Linked DNA regions of Homo sapiens: all the other regions are linked to region 2. Evidence: promoter capture Hi-C in 16 types of primary human blood cells and fetal thymus (Javierre and others, 2016). All regions are on one chromosome and are shown on one strand. The core of a region is centred on a gene start or on the middle of the fragment in contact, and the rest is flanking DNA. Distances in the headings are between cores, read along the strand shown. Region 1 overlaps C9orf72 (C9orf72-SMCR8 complex subunit). Region 2 holds the start of IFT74 (intraflagellar transport 74). Region 3 overlaps MOB3B (MOB kinase activator 3B). Region 4 holds the start of LOC124902107 (dapper homolog 3-like). Region 5 overlaps MOB3B (MOB kinase activator 3B).

What was found. The method cuts DNA at HindIII sites, captures the fragments that hold promoters and counts their contacts. A CHiCAGO score of 5 or more calls a contact.
Region 1: a fragment that was not itself captured here is called in contact with the fragment with the promoter of IFT74 in region 2 in 7 of 17 cell types (activated CD4 T cells, total B cells, non-activated CD4 T cells and 4 more); the score reaches 10.2 in activated CD4 T cells.
Region 3: a contact is called between a fragment that was not itself captured here and the fragment with the promoter of IFT74 in region 2, in 1 of 17 cell types (total B cells). The highest score is 7.3, in total B cells.
Region 4: a fragment that was not itself captured here is called in contact with the fragment with the promoter of IFT74 in region 2 in 12 of 17 cell types (activated CD4 T cells, total B cells, total CD4 T cells and 9 more); the score reaches 11.4 in activated CD4 T cells.
Region 5: a fragment that was not itself captured here is called in contact with the fragment with the promoter of IFT74 in region 2 in 3 of 17 cell types (total B cells, naive B cells and erythroblasts); the score reaches 6.2 in total B cells.

What each region holds. Positions count from the first base shown.
Region 1 is chr9:27,555,891-27,558,754 of GRCh38, reverse strand. It overlaps C9orf72 (C9orf72-SMCR8 complex subunit), which reads left to right. Exons shown (of 11, transcript NM_018325.5): 7 at 148-264; 8 at 1,959-2,194. Among named protein-coding and RNA genes, the nearest start is that of C9orf72, 16 kb to the left of the region's middle. The HindIII fragment of the contact is 1,343 bases long and covers 632-1,974 here.
Region 2 is chr9:26,955,024-26,958,098 of GRCh38, reverse strand. It overlaps IFT74 (intraflagellar transport 74), which reads right to left and starts at 1,687. Exons shown (of 20, transcript NM_025103.4): 1 at 1,583-1,687. IFT74-AS1 (IFT74 antisense RNA 1) reads left to right here and starts at 1,792. Exons shown (of 2, transcript NR_121605.1): 1 at 1,792-1,972; 2 at 2,084-2,319. RefSeq lists a silencer at 114-408 and enhancers at 1,005-1,739, 1,740-2,475. The HindIII fragment of the contact is 1,304 bases long and covers 863-2,166 here.
Region 3 is chr9:27,496,180-27,499,269 of GRCh38, reverse strand. All of the region lies in intron 1 of MOB3B (MOB kinase activator 3B), which reads left to right. Among named protein-coding and RNA genes, the nearest start is that of IFNK, 27 kb to the left of the region's middle. The HindIII fragment of the contact is 813 bases long and covers 1,056-1,868 here.
Region 4 is chr9:27,525,650-27,528,861 of GRCh38, reverse strand. The region is part of intron 1 of MOB3B (MOB kinase activator 3B); the gene reads left to right. IFNK (interferon kappa) reads right to left here. Exons shown (of 2, transcript NM_020124.3): 2 at 2,364-2,855. It overlaps LOC124902107 (dapper homolog 3-like), which reads right to left and starts at 406. Exons shown (of 2, transcript XM_047424279.1): 1 at 136-406. The coding sequence starts at 406. RefSeq lists a silencer at 271-320. The HindIII fragment of the contact is 409 bases long and covers 1,313-1,721 here.
Region 5 is chr9:27,469,984-27,472,986 of GRCh38, reverse strand. The region is part of intron 1 of MOB3B (MOB kinase activator 3B); the gene reads left to right. Among named protein-coding and RNA genes, the nearest start is that of IFNK, 53 kb to the left of the region's middle. The HindIII fragment of the contact is 4,612 bases long and covers 1-3,003 here.

The DNA of each region.
Region 1 (2,864 bases), core at 54-2,553, 600 kb before region 2:
ATCCCATGGATTCCAGGTGACTAAAGAATACTTATTTCTTAGGATATGTTTTATTGATAATAACAATTAAAATTTCAGATATCTTTCATAAGCAAATCAGTGGTCTTTTTACTTCATGTTTTAATGCTAAAATATTTTCTTTTATAGATAGTCAGAACATTATGCCTTTTTCTGACTCCAGCAGAGAGAAAATGCTCCAGGTTATGTGAAGCAGAATCATCATTTAAATATGAGTCAGGGCTCTTTGTACAAGGCCTGCTAAAGGTATAGTTTCTAGTTATCACAAGTGAAACCACTTTTCTAAAATCATTTTTGAGACTCTTTATAGACAAATCTTAAATATTAGCATTTAATGTATCTCATATTGACATGCCCAGAGACTGACTTCCTTTACACAGTTCTGCACATAGACTATATGTCTTATGGATTTATAGTTAGTATCATCAGTGAAACACCATAGAATACCCTTTGTGTTCCAGGTGGGTCCCTGTTCCTACATGTCTAGCCTCAGGACTTTTTTTTTTTTAACACATGCTTAAATCAGGTTGCACATCAAAAATAAGATCATTTCTTTTTAACTAAATAGATTTGAATTTTATTGAAAAAAAATTTTAAACATCTTTAAGAAGCTTATAGGATTTAAGCAATTCCTATGTATGTGTACTAAAATATATATATTTCTATATATAATATATATTAGAAAAAAATTGTATTTTTCTTTTATTTGAGTCTACTGTCAAGGAGCAAAACAGAGAAATGTAAATTAGCAATTATTTATAATACTTAAAGGGAAGAAAGTTGTTCACCTTGTTGAATCTATTATTGTTATTTCAATTATAGTCCCAAGACGTGAAGAAATAGCTTTCCTAATGGTTATGTGATTGTCTCATAGTGACTACTTTCTTGAGGATGTAGCCACGGCAAAATGAAATAAAAAAATTTAAAAATTGTTGCAAATACAAGTTATATTAGGCTTTTGTGCATTTTCAATAATGTGCTGCTATGAACTCAGAATGATAGTATTTAAATATAGAAACTAGTTAAAGGAAACGTAGTTTCTATTTGAGTTATACATATCTGTAAATTAGAACTTCTCCTGTTAAAGGCATAATAAAGTGCTTAATACTTTTGTTTCCTCAGCACCCTCTCATTTAATTATATAATTTTAGTTCTGAAAGGGACCTATACCAGATGCCTAGAGGAAATTTCAAAACTATGATCTAATGAAAAAATATTTAATAGTTCTCCATGCAAATACAAATCATATAGTTTTCCAGAAAATACCTTTGACATTATACAAAGATGATTATCACAGCATTATAATAGTAAAAAAATGGAAATAGCCTCTTTCTTCTGTTCTGTTCATAGCACAGTGCCTCATACGCAGTAGGTTATTATTACATGGTAACTGGCTACCCCAACTGATTAGGAAAGAAGTAAATTTGTTTTATAAAAATACATACTCATTGAGGTGCATAGAATAATTAAGAAATTAAAAGACACTTGTAATTTTGAATCCAGTGAATACCCACTGTTAATATTTGGTATATCTCTTTCTAGTCTTTTTTTCCCTTTTGCATGTATTTTCTTTAAGACTCCCACCCCCACTGGATCATCTCTGCATGTTCTAATCTGCTTTTTTCACAGCAGATTCTAAGCCTCTTTGAATATCAACACAAACTTCAACAACTTCATCTATAGATGCCAAATAATAAATTCATTTTTATTTACTTAACCACTTCCTTTGGATGCTTAGGTCATTCTGATGTTTTGCTATTGAAACCAATGCTATACTGAACACTTCTGTCACTAAAACTTTGCACACACTCATGAATAGCTTCTTAGGATAAATTTTTAGAGATGGATTTGCTAAATCAGAGACCATTTTTTAAAATTAAAAAACAATTATTCATATCGTTTGGCATGTAAGACAGTAAATTTTCCTTTTATTTTGACAGGATTCAACTGGAAGCTTTGTGCTGCCTTTCCGGCAAGTCATGTATGCTCCATATCCCACCACACACATAGATGTGGATGTCAATACTGTGAAGCAGATGCCACCCTGTCATGAACATATTTATAATCAGCGTAGATACATGAGATCCGAGCTGACAGCCTTCTGGAGAGCCACTTCAGAAGAAGACATGGCTCAGGATACGATCATCTACACTGACGAAAGCTTTACTCCTGATTTGTACGTAATGCTCTGCCTGCTGGTACTGTAGTCAAGCAATATGAAATTGTGTCTTTTACGAATAAAAACAAAACAGAAGTTGCATTTAAAAAGAAAGAAATATTACCAGCAGAATTATGCTTGAAGAAACATTTAATCAAGCATTTTTTTCTTAAATGTTCTTCTTTTTCCATACAATTGTGTTTACCCTAAAATAGGTAAGATTAACCCTTAAAGTAAATATTTAACTATTTGTTTAATAAATATATATTGAGCTCCTAGGCACTGTTCTAGGTACCGGGCTTAATAGTGGCCAACCAGACAGCCCCAGCCCCAGCCCCTACATTGTGTATAGTCTATTATGTAACAGTTATTGAATGGACTTATTAACAAAACCAAAGAAGTAATTCTAAGTCTTTTTTTTCTTGACATATGAATATAAAATACAGCAAAACTGTTAAAATATATTAATGGAACATTTTTTTACTTTGCATTTTATATTGTTATTCACTTCTTATTTTTTTTTAAAAAAAAAAGCCTGAACAGTAAATTCAAAAGGAAAAGTAATGATAATTAATTGTTGAGCATGGACCCAACTTGAAAAAAAAAATGATGATGATAAATCTATAATCCTAAAACCCTAAGTAAACACTTAAAAGATGTTCTGAAATCAGGAAAAGAATTATAGTAT
Region 2 (3,075 bases), core at 438-2,937:
TTGCCAATTACAAAAATTTACTAAATTGTTAAAAAGCAAACAAAGCGACCGGGAGCGGTGGCTCACGCCTGTAATCCCAGAACTTTGGGAGGCCGAGGCGGGTGGATCACGAGATCAGGAGATGGAGACCATCCTGGCTAACATAGTGAAACCCTATCTCTACTAAAAATACAAAAAAAAAATTATCCGGGCGTGGTGGCGGGCGTAGTCCCAGGAGGCGGAGCTTGCAGTGAGCCGAGATCGCGCCACTGCACTCCAGCCTGGGCGACTGAGCAAGACTCCGTCTCAAAAAAAAAAAAGGCAAACAAAGCGTGTGTTGGACTAAAATGATTTCTCTGTTTCTACACTCTATGTCCAGTACTACTTTTCTGACTTTTCTTAGCATTACTCGTAATCAGTCCTTGGACTGCTTCTATCCTTTCTACAGTCATGCATCTTTATAACTCCAACTATGTGTACGGCTCACTAATCAATGTCTACAGTTCTGCCCTTTCAACTGGGCACCAATTTTGAGTTTTCAATTGTTTATCTGAAATTTCCATTCAGATATCTCATTTGAATATGTTCACATCAATCTTCCTGACCCCACTAGCTCCCTGATTCTAATTCCTTGCCATTTTGAACTCTATGTACAAAGCAAAAGAATTTCAAATGGAAAAAGGAATTTCATGAAATGACTCTTTGAAAAGGAAGACGGTGTATGATCAAAATGGTTTTTCCAGAAGAAAACGAGTACAATAAACATCTCTTTCCAGTGGAAAAGATATTACTCTAGGTTTCCTGCTAACTTTGAGAAAATGTACAACATAAAAAATTTCACCCAATTTTCTTTGCCACCGTTTTACTGTGGTGAAAAAAAGCTTACCATTATATTATTACCAGTGGGATTAAGAGGCGGGCATTAGCAACAAATATACCACTAACTTCGGGGTTATTCAATCAAAGAGTCACACAATTTCCAATTATTCACACAGAGAGGCAGCCTGGCCTTTGGATCCAGAATGATTAGCGATACAAACTAGTGCTGACAAAGTTAGCGGCTGCATAATCTTGCCACCTTAATTAACCCCTCAGGATTTCATCTTCTGTAAAACAGAAGGGTGACATCTACCTTGCAGGGCTGTTGTGAAGACGATAAGTATTACATTTAAAACATCTGCTTCTAATTATTATTACTATCGTTATCCTCCCTAAGCCAACCATTCTCACACAGGTGAATAAGTGGAAAGTTGCTAACTGCCCGCACTGTGATCAACAGACAGAAATAAGTCCCTTCCACTGTAAGAGGCAGAAATGTATTGCTTTGACTAAAATCCTTCAGCCCATCGCGGTCCTTCCCTCTGCTCTGTGCTTGGCGGGTCTCCTGCGGGGGGTCGGGGAGGGGTCGGGCTGTTGGAGGAGGTCTGTTCGCAACCTTCGCTCGACTAGAATTGGTACATGCCTGGCCTGGCTACAGGCCCGACGGTAACAGTTAGCTAAGACCGAGTTTGAATTTGTTTTGTTTGGAGCGGATCAGCATCTCCAAGGCAAGAGAACAGACGTGGGAGGGAGGGAGGAAGAGATGGGACCCGGGGATTCTCACCTCCGCCGGCGCGGAAGGAGGGCAGTTGCCCGGCTCGCGGGTGCCTTAACTTCTTTCTGAGGCCCACGCTCAGTTTTCCTCGGCTCTCAGGCCTACCCACTAACTGCCGTGCGCCGCGGCGTATCCCGGCAACGGGGGCGGGATAGCGGAGGCTCCTCATCCTGAGTGACCAATCCTCCGCCTCAGCCCTTGGTTACACACGGAGCTCTCGCGAGAATTGAGGATATGTTTGTTTCTTCACCACGCTTCAGTGCTTTTTGGAAAAAGTGGAAAACAGCGGGGCGGCTGGAAGACAAACATTTTATGTGAACGTTTGGTTTTCTTGATAATCAGAGCAACCTCCGTGTGCCTTACTTGAAGTAACTCTAGCGAGTTTTGCTATGTCCCTAGGTAACCTCACGTCGGCTAACGTTGTTAACAGGTTACATTTGAAGTTAAGTGGTAGGCAGCATTGTGCAATTTTCTAAACTCCTAATTTGTGGTAGTTTTCCTTCCTATTAGGACGGCATAGCGTACACAACGCATCATGAAGTATGGATGCGATTCTGGCACCAACTGTTCCGTTCCTGCTTTCACCAGAAGCTTTGCGTCTTTAAGCTTCCTTTCATTAGAATTTGGATCCAAGTTTGTGGGGAAGACTGTGAATTCAATGGAAAGTGTCCTTTTTTTTTTTTTTTTTAATTTAAGAACTACTTCACCTTAAATCCCACTTCTCTAATAAAATAACTTTTACTGTATGTTTCCTTCCAATCTTCATTGATAACAGCTTAAATGTGATTGCATATGTATTGGGATTTTAACATTATTTTACACATTATTTCCAACTTGCCTGCCTTCGAGGAGTTAAAAATCAATACAACACAAAATGAGATAATGTTATGTGGCTGAATTCTCCCTTAGTTTGTGAAACATTTTCATGTAATTATCTCATTTGAGCTCACCCTATTTGCAGTGGCCATTTGTCATCCTTTTGGCAGAGTTTCTCCCTTACCCTGCCCCCCAACACCCTTACAGGAACTGAAAGTGACAGATACTGGCTTTCCTAGTCTTCCTTATTACTGGGACATGAGTATTATTGCTTGCTAGACTCTCCAATCTAATTTGGTGGACTCAACTCAAACTTGAATGACAACCAGAAGCAGGACTTCAGAGAGTCTGTTGAAGTAAGGGTGACAGCCGCAGTAACTACATCGTTTCCGAGACTGCAATGTTCTATCACCAGCAACCAGTGTCCAGCATCAGTGTGTTGTTGCAAGCTGCAGTGTTAGGTACTCAGAGGCTTTATTGGGAGGAGAACCTCTAGCTTGTTTCTTCAGCTTCTGGGAGAGTCTGTGAGCTGCTTAATGTCCTTTAATAAATTCATTTTCAGCTTTTATATCATTTATAGATGATTTCTGTTCCTTGCACTTAAGGACCCTGACAGATATTAACAGTTGAAATTGGCAGGACAGATACTATTATCCAAGTTTTAAAGAGATTAAATAATTTGCTTA
Region 3 (3,090 bases), core at 213-2,712, 540 kb before region 2:
TTCTGTGATTTTTCCTTGTTCCTCAGTCTCTTCATACATAAAAGAAATACATCAGCAGTGGCTCTGAGATGCAAAAATAAATATAATTGTCAATATTTAAATTGTAAAACTTTAGTAGATTATTCTTATTTTAATTAAAGGAGGAAAATAGACCCAAAATGATTTTAGGAGCTGATTCAGATAAATTGGTCAGGTGGTTTAGAATTTAAATTCATGGTTCTTTTCTACTGAATTTATTGGATAATAATTTATGCATATACAGATAAATTTGGTGCACTTTAAAATGTGCTTAAAAAATCTTGTGTTAAGATCCTCTTCTTCCTGAATCAGAGGTCCACAGGCCTATTTTGGCCCACAGAGATGTTTTGTTTGCTCATAGAAAGTGTTGATTTTTCTTTTAAGTTATCAACCTATAAAAATACAGATTTCACCTAAAAAATAGATTTCCAATTACGCTTAAAGAATCATAAGATCCAGCAATGTCAGGTCTTTATCTCTACATAGCAACTGCTGCTAGTACTGAATAACTTTCCCCTTTCAATGGTGCATGTGCCTCAGCACCAACAGTCTCTGGGATGAGACCCCAGTACTACAAATCAGGGTTTTCTCTGTTGACCTAGATGAGAACATTCTGACATTGAGAATAAACAGTTTAAGCATCATTATTAAGTGGTATTTGAATTCAGAGATTAGGCACATGAACAAAACCTAGGGTACTGCTACCTTGAACTTCTTTTAGTAAGAAGCAAGTTCTTCTAACTTTCCTCTACTTTCTTTTAAGTTTGTCCAAAGGTGCATTTGCAAAGGGATTACAAAGACCATGGCAGAACCAGCCCACCCCTCCCTAACACACACATCACACGCTTATTCCACCAGCTCCTCTAATTAAAGGTCTCGCACAGCTCATACGACTCCCAAAGCCAATTAAACAATGCTCACCCTTGTACCTCACAGTAGGTTGGGGAGTAGCTTGGAAAACGCTGTGATTGATATGAAAAGTAGTAACGTATTTTTAAGCACTTTTAGCACTGTTGTTACTCTATGAGGCACAAGCTTTCAACATAGTGGCCTTTTATTTTCTGCGCTTTTGGAGTGTGAGAACACCATAGAGGCTACACGCACCACGGCGTTTCTGTGGGCTGGGAATCAAGGCCTGGAGAAGGGGGTGGGCAGCCGGGAAGTGACAGTGCAGGGAGGGGGAGTTGGCAGCTGTCAAATGAATGCATTTCCCTCTTCTATTATCCTGCTATCCGAATGCTCCATCTATTCATATTCATGGTTTCCATCACTGTGCATAGCACCAAGGCCAGCTTCCTTTTCACATTTCATCTTCTTGTCTTTCTTGGAGTTTCATTTTGATTTACTAAAAATCAGTGGACTGCTTCTAAACAAGGATCAGCTAATAGAAACTGGAGGTAGTTGGTAGAGAATCTACTGGGAGGAATTTATTTACATACAAGAAGTTAAAGCCAAATGTATGTGGTAAGTTAACTTTTTGTTCATCCATTGTTAATTTCATTAATTTCCTACTAATCTAGTGATTAATTCCCCATGTAGGAAGACTATATTCACATTGCTAAGAGAAAGGAATAAGTAAAACATTTTATATTTTAATTACAAAGTAATATATATTTAATTTAGAACATATAAAACTACAAAAATTTAGGAAAGTACAGAAAAGAAATTAAAATCACCTGAAACTAGACATAATTATTAGTAAGTTCTGAGTTTATTTCTTTACAGTCAAATATGTATATATATTTTTTAGGAAATTGTGATAATTCTAGAAATTATTCTCATTGTCTTCTTATATTTGTATAATACTAAATCATAAATATTTTAATATCCTTAAATATTTTATTAAAGCTTTTCATATGTCTATATAGAATTCTATAGTATGGATACTCCATGATTTTTGGGAAGTTAGGTTTTTCTGAATTTAAATATTAAACAATGTTGTGATAAAGACATTCACAAGCTTTCACATCCAAGCTTTGTGGAAATCTATGCTTTTTCCTTAGGAAAATTTCCCAGAAGTGATTTGTGAGTCAAAAGGTAGTTGGCCTTTAAAGTAACCTCCACAAAGTTTGTAGGAATTGAAGCTCTCTGATGTATAAGAGCCCCAAACAGGGAGCTTTTCTAAGAATATCTTTCTGGGAAGCTACTCAGAATATTCTTTGACTGCTTTTGTCTAGATATTTTTACTCTATGAAGAAGACTAATCACTTGCTGGAGTTTCTTGGAATATAGGAAGAGGAGAATGGAATGCTGCCAACTTTGAAAATGTTTGGGAAAAGTGTGGGCCATATTAACCATCGTTTTAATTAACATTTGTTTTAGATCAAGAATGGAAAACCAACTCTTCTGGAGGAAAACATAAATGTCTGCTGGGGAACATGTATTTGCTTTGGGAACCCTTGGGACCAAGAAAATAAAATGCTTAATAACAACAGCATAATGAGGCTGTAGGAGTGCTGAAAGCATTAATTAATGAACAATTTTAAAGTTCTTCAGAAGCCCAGGGAGAGTTTAGAGTGGATGGATTCCTTTACTGACAAAGACTAATATGTTGGACTGCTTAGGCTGACTTGATTAAACCAGAGCTAAATTTTAAAACACACCTAATTACAGTTTCCCTATTTTAAATGGAATGCCTCATATTTATTGGAGTCCTATTATTCTATTGAGATGAACCACGGTTAACCACATCCATATTTTTTAATATTTAGGCTGTAGAACTAAACTTTTACATGTACCTGGAGAAGTTTAGAAGTTGACATTATACTGTCCTTACATGTGACGTCCCACTTTGCAACAAAAGAGCCATAGGAAGGCAGGCCCTGAACTGACCAATCGAATAACCTGAGAGTCTGATCAGAAGAATGCATGCTATGTAAATAGATCACGTTTGGGCAAGTGCTTCCTATTGCTGTCCATTGAAACTTAACACTTTCAGTGGTCCTTCTGAGTTTAACAGGTTTCTATCTCCTGGCAATAAAACCAGACTTTGCTATAGTGGTTTACTTGGCAAACTTAATCTCCACTTGTTCCTGCAGTAGGATTAAGCATGTAAACACAGCATGAGTTAAT
Region 4 (3,212 bases), core at 268-2,767, 570 kb before region 2:
AGACCCCTGCTGGGAGGGTAAAGCGCCGACCCCTGGTGCCTGGCAAGTACCAGAGACTCTAAATCTCTCGGGATCCCCCCCCTCGCGCTCTTTCCTGACCCTCTCCCCTAACCCTCCCCACAGAGATCTCTCTACGCAGCCGACTGAGATCGTGGCGAATGGCCTTTTGTTTCTCCGCGTTTCCCCTATTGTTTGCCTTTCCAACATCTGGCGGGGCTTGGGGAGAGAAGGAAGCCCCTCTGGTCCCCCTCCCCGGCCCCCACGCCAGCTCCGGCAGGGGATCCCAGCTGGGAAAGTGGAGGAGCCCGACCCCAGCGAGGCCGCCCCACCCCGCCCTTGTGGTTAGAGGGCGGAGGGAAAGTTGTTCCTTCCCCGCCTCCGCTGCTGCCTGTGGCCCAGGGCGCATTTCTCAGATCTCAGCCCAGGCGCGCCGCAAAGGCTCAAATCCGAGAAGGTGCTGCTTTCGAGACAGTGGAAGCGCGTTCCGCCCCAATCCAGAGCGTCCAGTGGTTGGTTCCAGAGGATTTCAATCTCTAGCCAAAGGCGTTGGGGCTGGGCCGCTGCTAGGGCAGTGGGAGGGGATCGGGGCACCTTTGGTAGGCGGAAAGCTGAGATTCTGGGGTCCACAAGTTTCCAAGGGCGGGAGGGCAGGCTAGTCGCCAAAAAGAGAACGAAGATGCAAATAACGAGGAAGCCTTATGACGTTGCCTGGAAATAGTAGTGTGGTGGTTCACTCCGGAATGAACGTGGAGTTCTGGCTTTGAGTACCGCTCCAAGTTTAAATCCCAAGTCCCCTTTCTTCATTGTAGAAAAAGAGGACTCAGACGACGCAACACAGATACGGCTAGAGCACAGTTCCTGCTTCCACGTCCCAGAGAACAAGTGGCTTAGGATGGTCCCGAGTTCCCCTGTGGGTGCGCTTGTTGGGTTGCAGGCGGCCCTGTTTCCCTGCACAAGTCAGATGCTTACACATTGTGTTCATTCTTAGTGTGGATTATTGATTAAAGAACTGGGGCAAAAGCAAAGTAGCTACTCTGAGAAGTCAGGGTCCCCAGATGGTGCCCAGCGAGTTGTCTTGCCTCTGAGGGGAGGCTGACTGAGACTGTGCACCTGTTAGAACCTATGCTACCCCATAGCCTTGCAGTTGACTTGCTGTTGCCAGCTTTTCCTGTGGGATCCCCAATGAGTCCCTCTTCCAAGGAAGCTCAATTACACTTTTGATTCCTCCTCAACCCAGGGGAAGAAAGAGGCTTCTGTAGGAACATTATGATCTATGTACCCACTCAGACATTGTCAGTGGATACCAGAAGCTTGGCTCTGCACAGCTCTGAGAGTTTTCCCTTTGCGAACTCAACAGAACTTTTGAGTTTCCATTTAACATAAAAGAAGTGAGACTGCTAAGCCAGGAATGCGACACATAGAGCACTTTCTCTAGTGATTTCTGGGTATTATATCTCTTTACCTTCCCAACGGTGGAACCAGGAAAAGAAAAAAAAGCAACATCTTTGAAGTACTGCAAGGCACTTTACAAACATTTCATTATGAAAATGATCCCCAAGGAAGGATTCCTTTGAAATTTAGCAGCAGCAACCCAGAAGCAACAAAAAAGACCAAAGTTACTCAAGAAGTACCCAAAGGCATCATTAACAAAATAAAAGAGCATTTCTTGTCTTGGCCTACCCCGCTAAGGAAAACAGGGTAATTATAGTGGAAGTTAAGCTTGTACAGTTTCTTTTAGAATTAAAAATCTTCCCAAAAAAATCACTATAGGAAAAAATAGAAAATATCGAATGGTGAAAATGAATGTAAAAGGGGGAGATATCATAAACCTATTTCCTTGGAATAAATTTCGGAAGACGTGATACCTAGGTCACAGGGGCTGATGCGTTCTTTAGGATATTGAAGATTGCCATATTTCCCTGTAGAAAACATGTCCCAGTTTACTTTCCTCCCAGTAATGCACAAAGGCTCCTATACCTTACACTCCACTCACATTTTATATTGTCATTCTTTTTCTTTTCTGTCATACTGATGGGAGTATCTTGTCATCTTATTTTGCATTTAAAAATCAAGTTAGATTAAACATTTTTCACATTGTCTGTAGTATTTCTTCCTTTGTGATGATGTCAGTTTGTGCCCTTGCCTTTTTTCCAGTGGAGATGTTATCCTTTTTCTTTTGATTAGATGTGATCTTTAAAAAAGCATACTGTTCTGACTTCTACCCCTGCCACACATTCAGAAAATGTATATTAACTGAAAGCTCAGCTCGGCTTTCTCAGCCATTCTCTTTCCTCCAGGATAGCAAACACTTGGCAGGACTGCAACCATAAATGACTAAAGTAATTGACCTCATTCCAGTAAAGTTATTAGAGAGAACAGGCAAAGACTTTATTAGAGAAAGTCATGAAAAATAGCAAGTATATATTTTATGCTCAGTAGCTTGCATGTCCTAACTCCTTTACAAGCTTGTAGTACTATTTTTAATCTGGAACAACTCTGCTGATAGTTATTTTTACTAAATGGTTTGCACTAACTCATTTTATTGTCTGATCCTTCTGCTGATAGCCTGCATATACCATGATCCACAATTTGTTCTTGTTCTTTTAAACATCTCTTCTAACTTCTTGGCTGAAATTTGCCTCACTTTTATCATAAGACTTTCTTTGGCTATAACATTTGGGCCCTGCGCTTGGAATAATCTTGAATCTGAACAGTTTGGCAGCATGCTGTTAGTGGCATGAGCAGGAAATGGCTTCCAAGGGCAGAACCAGGTACATTTCAGATATATTTCACCCTTTTTTGGTGCATTTGCGTAGCCACAATCTCTGTTAATTCTTGCTTGAAGGTAGATGATTCTGAAATGGGGTAGATAGAGGTGCGAGAGGAAGAGAAAATCCATGTCAGCTAGGTGGTGAATTAATATAGATGAAGGGCCGTGCTAGAAAAGTAAATAATCTAGGTAGTCTGGCTGCAAAGTAACTTTTAAAAAGATAAAAGATATTAAAGTATTATGTATTATTGGAATAGCTAGTTAAATTAACTCACAGAATGTAGTCTTCTAACTAGGAAAATCTAATGTAAAATTGTTCCATATTATGACTCTGGACATTTTATTTCAGGCACATGAAAAACAGTAAAAGACAGATTCTGTACCATACTTTTCCACAGCATTTTCCATGCCTTTAGATGTAGGAATCAAACAATATACATCA
Region 5 (3,003 bases), core at 73-2,572, 520 kb before region 2:
GTTTGTATCTTGATCAGTTATGTAAAGACGTGCATTTGAGATGCACCAAAGTGACTTTTAGATGCTTCTTTTTAAAAATGACAGTCTTAACTTGTGTTTGCGGAACTCTGTATTTTTCAGTTTTCACCTACGTTAAGCCTTTCAATTTTTTTGTTGACTAAAGTTGGTAGAAGAAATGATTATCAGAGTTTTTATGGAATCCTCCACCACCTTTTTCCAAAAGGAATTAGAATCATCTGGTGCTTATATAAAATCAAACACTGTTTAAACTCAGGGAGCTCTTTTTTTTTTTTTTTTTTTTTTTTTTTAGAATAAAGTGCAGTTTAAAGAGAATAGAGTGGGAGCTTTTACCAGATACCTGTTTTGGTCTCTTGCTGGGCTGATACTATTTTCCTAGGAATGGTGACTGTGTGTTTCTGTTTTTCCTCTTCAGATTTCTTAGACCAAATAGAGGAAATCCACTGGAGGCTTACCTAACAAGACGTATTGATGAATGTAGAATCTTAAATGAAAAAGAAGTCAGTGGATGTGGCTTCCTGTACTGTCAGCTTGGACCAAAAATAAAGCGAGCCCTCGCCGCAGGGGTTTGGCTCAGCCCTGCGCCTGTGGCAGATGTTGTTTTCCATGGCTTTGCTTGAGGAGTACACTTCTCTGGGCAAAAGTTCCTGAGGCCTTTGGAGACTTTTAAAGCCTTTTTTTTTTCTGTAGCTTTTATTGTTTTTAAGAAAAGTGGTGTCACCCTTACTTGTCATTAAAAAAAAAATAGTGTGGGAAAAACAAATAAACTACCCAAAGAATAAAACAAGAAAAACCAAAACAACTCCCCTAAATGAATGAAAAAATTTACACCCTTCACTCTTTTGCAAGATAACTATTTCCATGCAAGTTGGATTAGAAACTATGAGAAGATTTTTCTCTTTGATTTTTGGTTTCTTCTATTTTTAACATTTTTGACAAGTCTACACATTGTGGTTACATAAAAACATCAGGATTAAGATATTTGGTATTTAAAAAGCACCCTTGGACTCGGGATGATTCTTTCTGGCCTACAGTGTGCCAGACCCGCTGCTAACCTCTCTTCACCTACTGTCTTAGTTGATCACCACAATCCTGCAAGGTATAACCCACTAAGAGTGTTTTAGGAGAGAGGGAACGTAGCAGCCTGTGGGATCTGCTTTTCAGGAGTTCCCTATCCAGAAGGAGGGAGACATATGTATATGAGTAAGTTCAAGAAAGCATGATGTTAGTGATAAGAATTAAAGCTAATGCATATTACAAACTTACCTTGCGCTTGCTGCTATATCAAATGCTTTATTTGGATAATGTAATTTAACTCTCATGGCAGCCCTTTGAGATGGATATTTTATCTCCATTTTACAGAAATGGAAGAAGAGGAAGCTAACGTTGAGCAATGTGATATAGTAAGCTCCAGAGCCCACACTCTAGAAATGGTAGATTTGGGAGTCAAAATCGGGCAGTCTGATCTCAGATCCATTTACTTAACGACCAGTCTATACAACACAGTGACCAAGAGCCACAAAGCGCAGGGGTGGTTCATTGAACTAGCCTCTCCACAGGTGGTGTAGACCAGTAGGGGCAGGGCCATGTTGTATATTCCCAATAATGATTCAGGTTAATTCTCCTTTCCCCCAAGGACTTTTTCTGCCATTCTTACTGCTGGAAATACAACTCTTCAGATGACCACTTTTGTCTCCTGCCTATTCGCCTCAGGAAATGACTTTTGGCCCATGGACCACTGGATATGCCAGGCCAGGCATGTCAGACTCCCTGGCTCAGGGAGCTCTTAAATCCTGGAGAGCAGCAGAGTCCACACATCCACTGGTGAGGGGTGGGATGCTAGAGTCTGCATTTTAAACTTGCACCCCAGGTGCAAGTGATCTTGGTCTTTCTGCCATTTCCGAGTGTCCCCAGGAAACCCAGAGGGAACTTACTAGTTAGTCCGTGGACAGATGGTTCAGGGTGAGAAGGGGTTGTATTTTTTCCTTCAGCAGCCACCACCTTCTACCAGAGCCGCCAGAGCTCAAAAGGGGAAAAGTGAAAGAGAAAAAAACAAACAAACAAAAGATAAAAGGCCAGGGGGAGGCAGTGCTGGGGGAAGAGTATAGAACTCAATAAGAACAAGTCAAACCCATAAATATTTGCTGAGAAAAGCAAGGGTTCCAAATGAGTGCGGCAGGGATGGCAGAAACAAAGCCAGATTAGGGAAGGGTCAGGAGAGAAGGGGAAGGGGTAGGCTGAACCTCCACCAGAGGTGGCAGCTTGTGTTTGAAGCCTGCTTTGATGGGCCCACAGGGCTAACAGATGGGTGGGTGGGCCCTGATTATAGATGGGCCAGAAGTTGGGGGTGAGCTGTGAGAATAACCAACAAATCGGACTGTTTAGATACAAAGGAAGGGCTACAGATTCAGAGCTTTGGAGCAAAGGAGAGACAAGAGTCACTTCCTAACAGCACTGTAGGGAGAAGTCGCCTGGAGGCTGGAGGATTATGGCAGGCGGAAGGCAAAAGAAAGGGCAGGGGCAGGGATTTAGCCACTGACAAGTGCAGTCAGCATTAGGGGTCTGGGGAGTTGTCCGATTGATCAAGCGAAACCTGAAAGTTCTCAGAGGTGTTTCAGTGGCTGTTGAGAGGAGTAGACACCCTGCTTCAGCTGCAGAAGAGATAAATAATTTTTATTTATTTTTATAAAATTGAGGGCCTGCATAAAACTTCATTTGGAGGAACAAAGGAGCTATGTTGCTTTAAAAGGCTTAAAAATCACCAGGAATATGAATAATATCTATATCTACATCTCTCCATAGATCTAAAAAGACAGTTAAGTTGGGGTAGTTTTCTTTTCTTTTTTTTTTTTTTCTTTTAAGAGACAGGGTCTCACTCTGTGCCCATGCTGGAATGCAGTGACATGATTATAGTTCATTGTGGCCTCGAACTCCTAGGCTCATGTGATCCTCCTCCTGCCTCAGCCTCCCAGATAGCTGGGACCA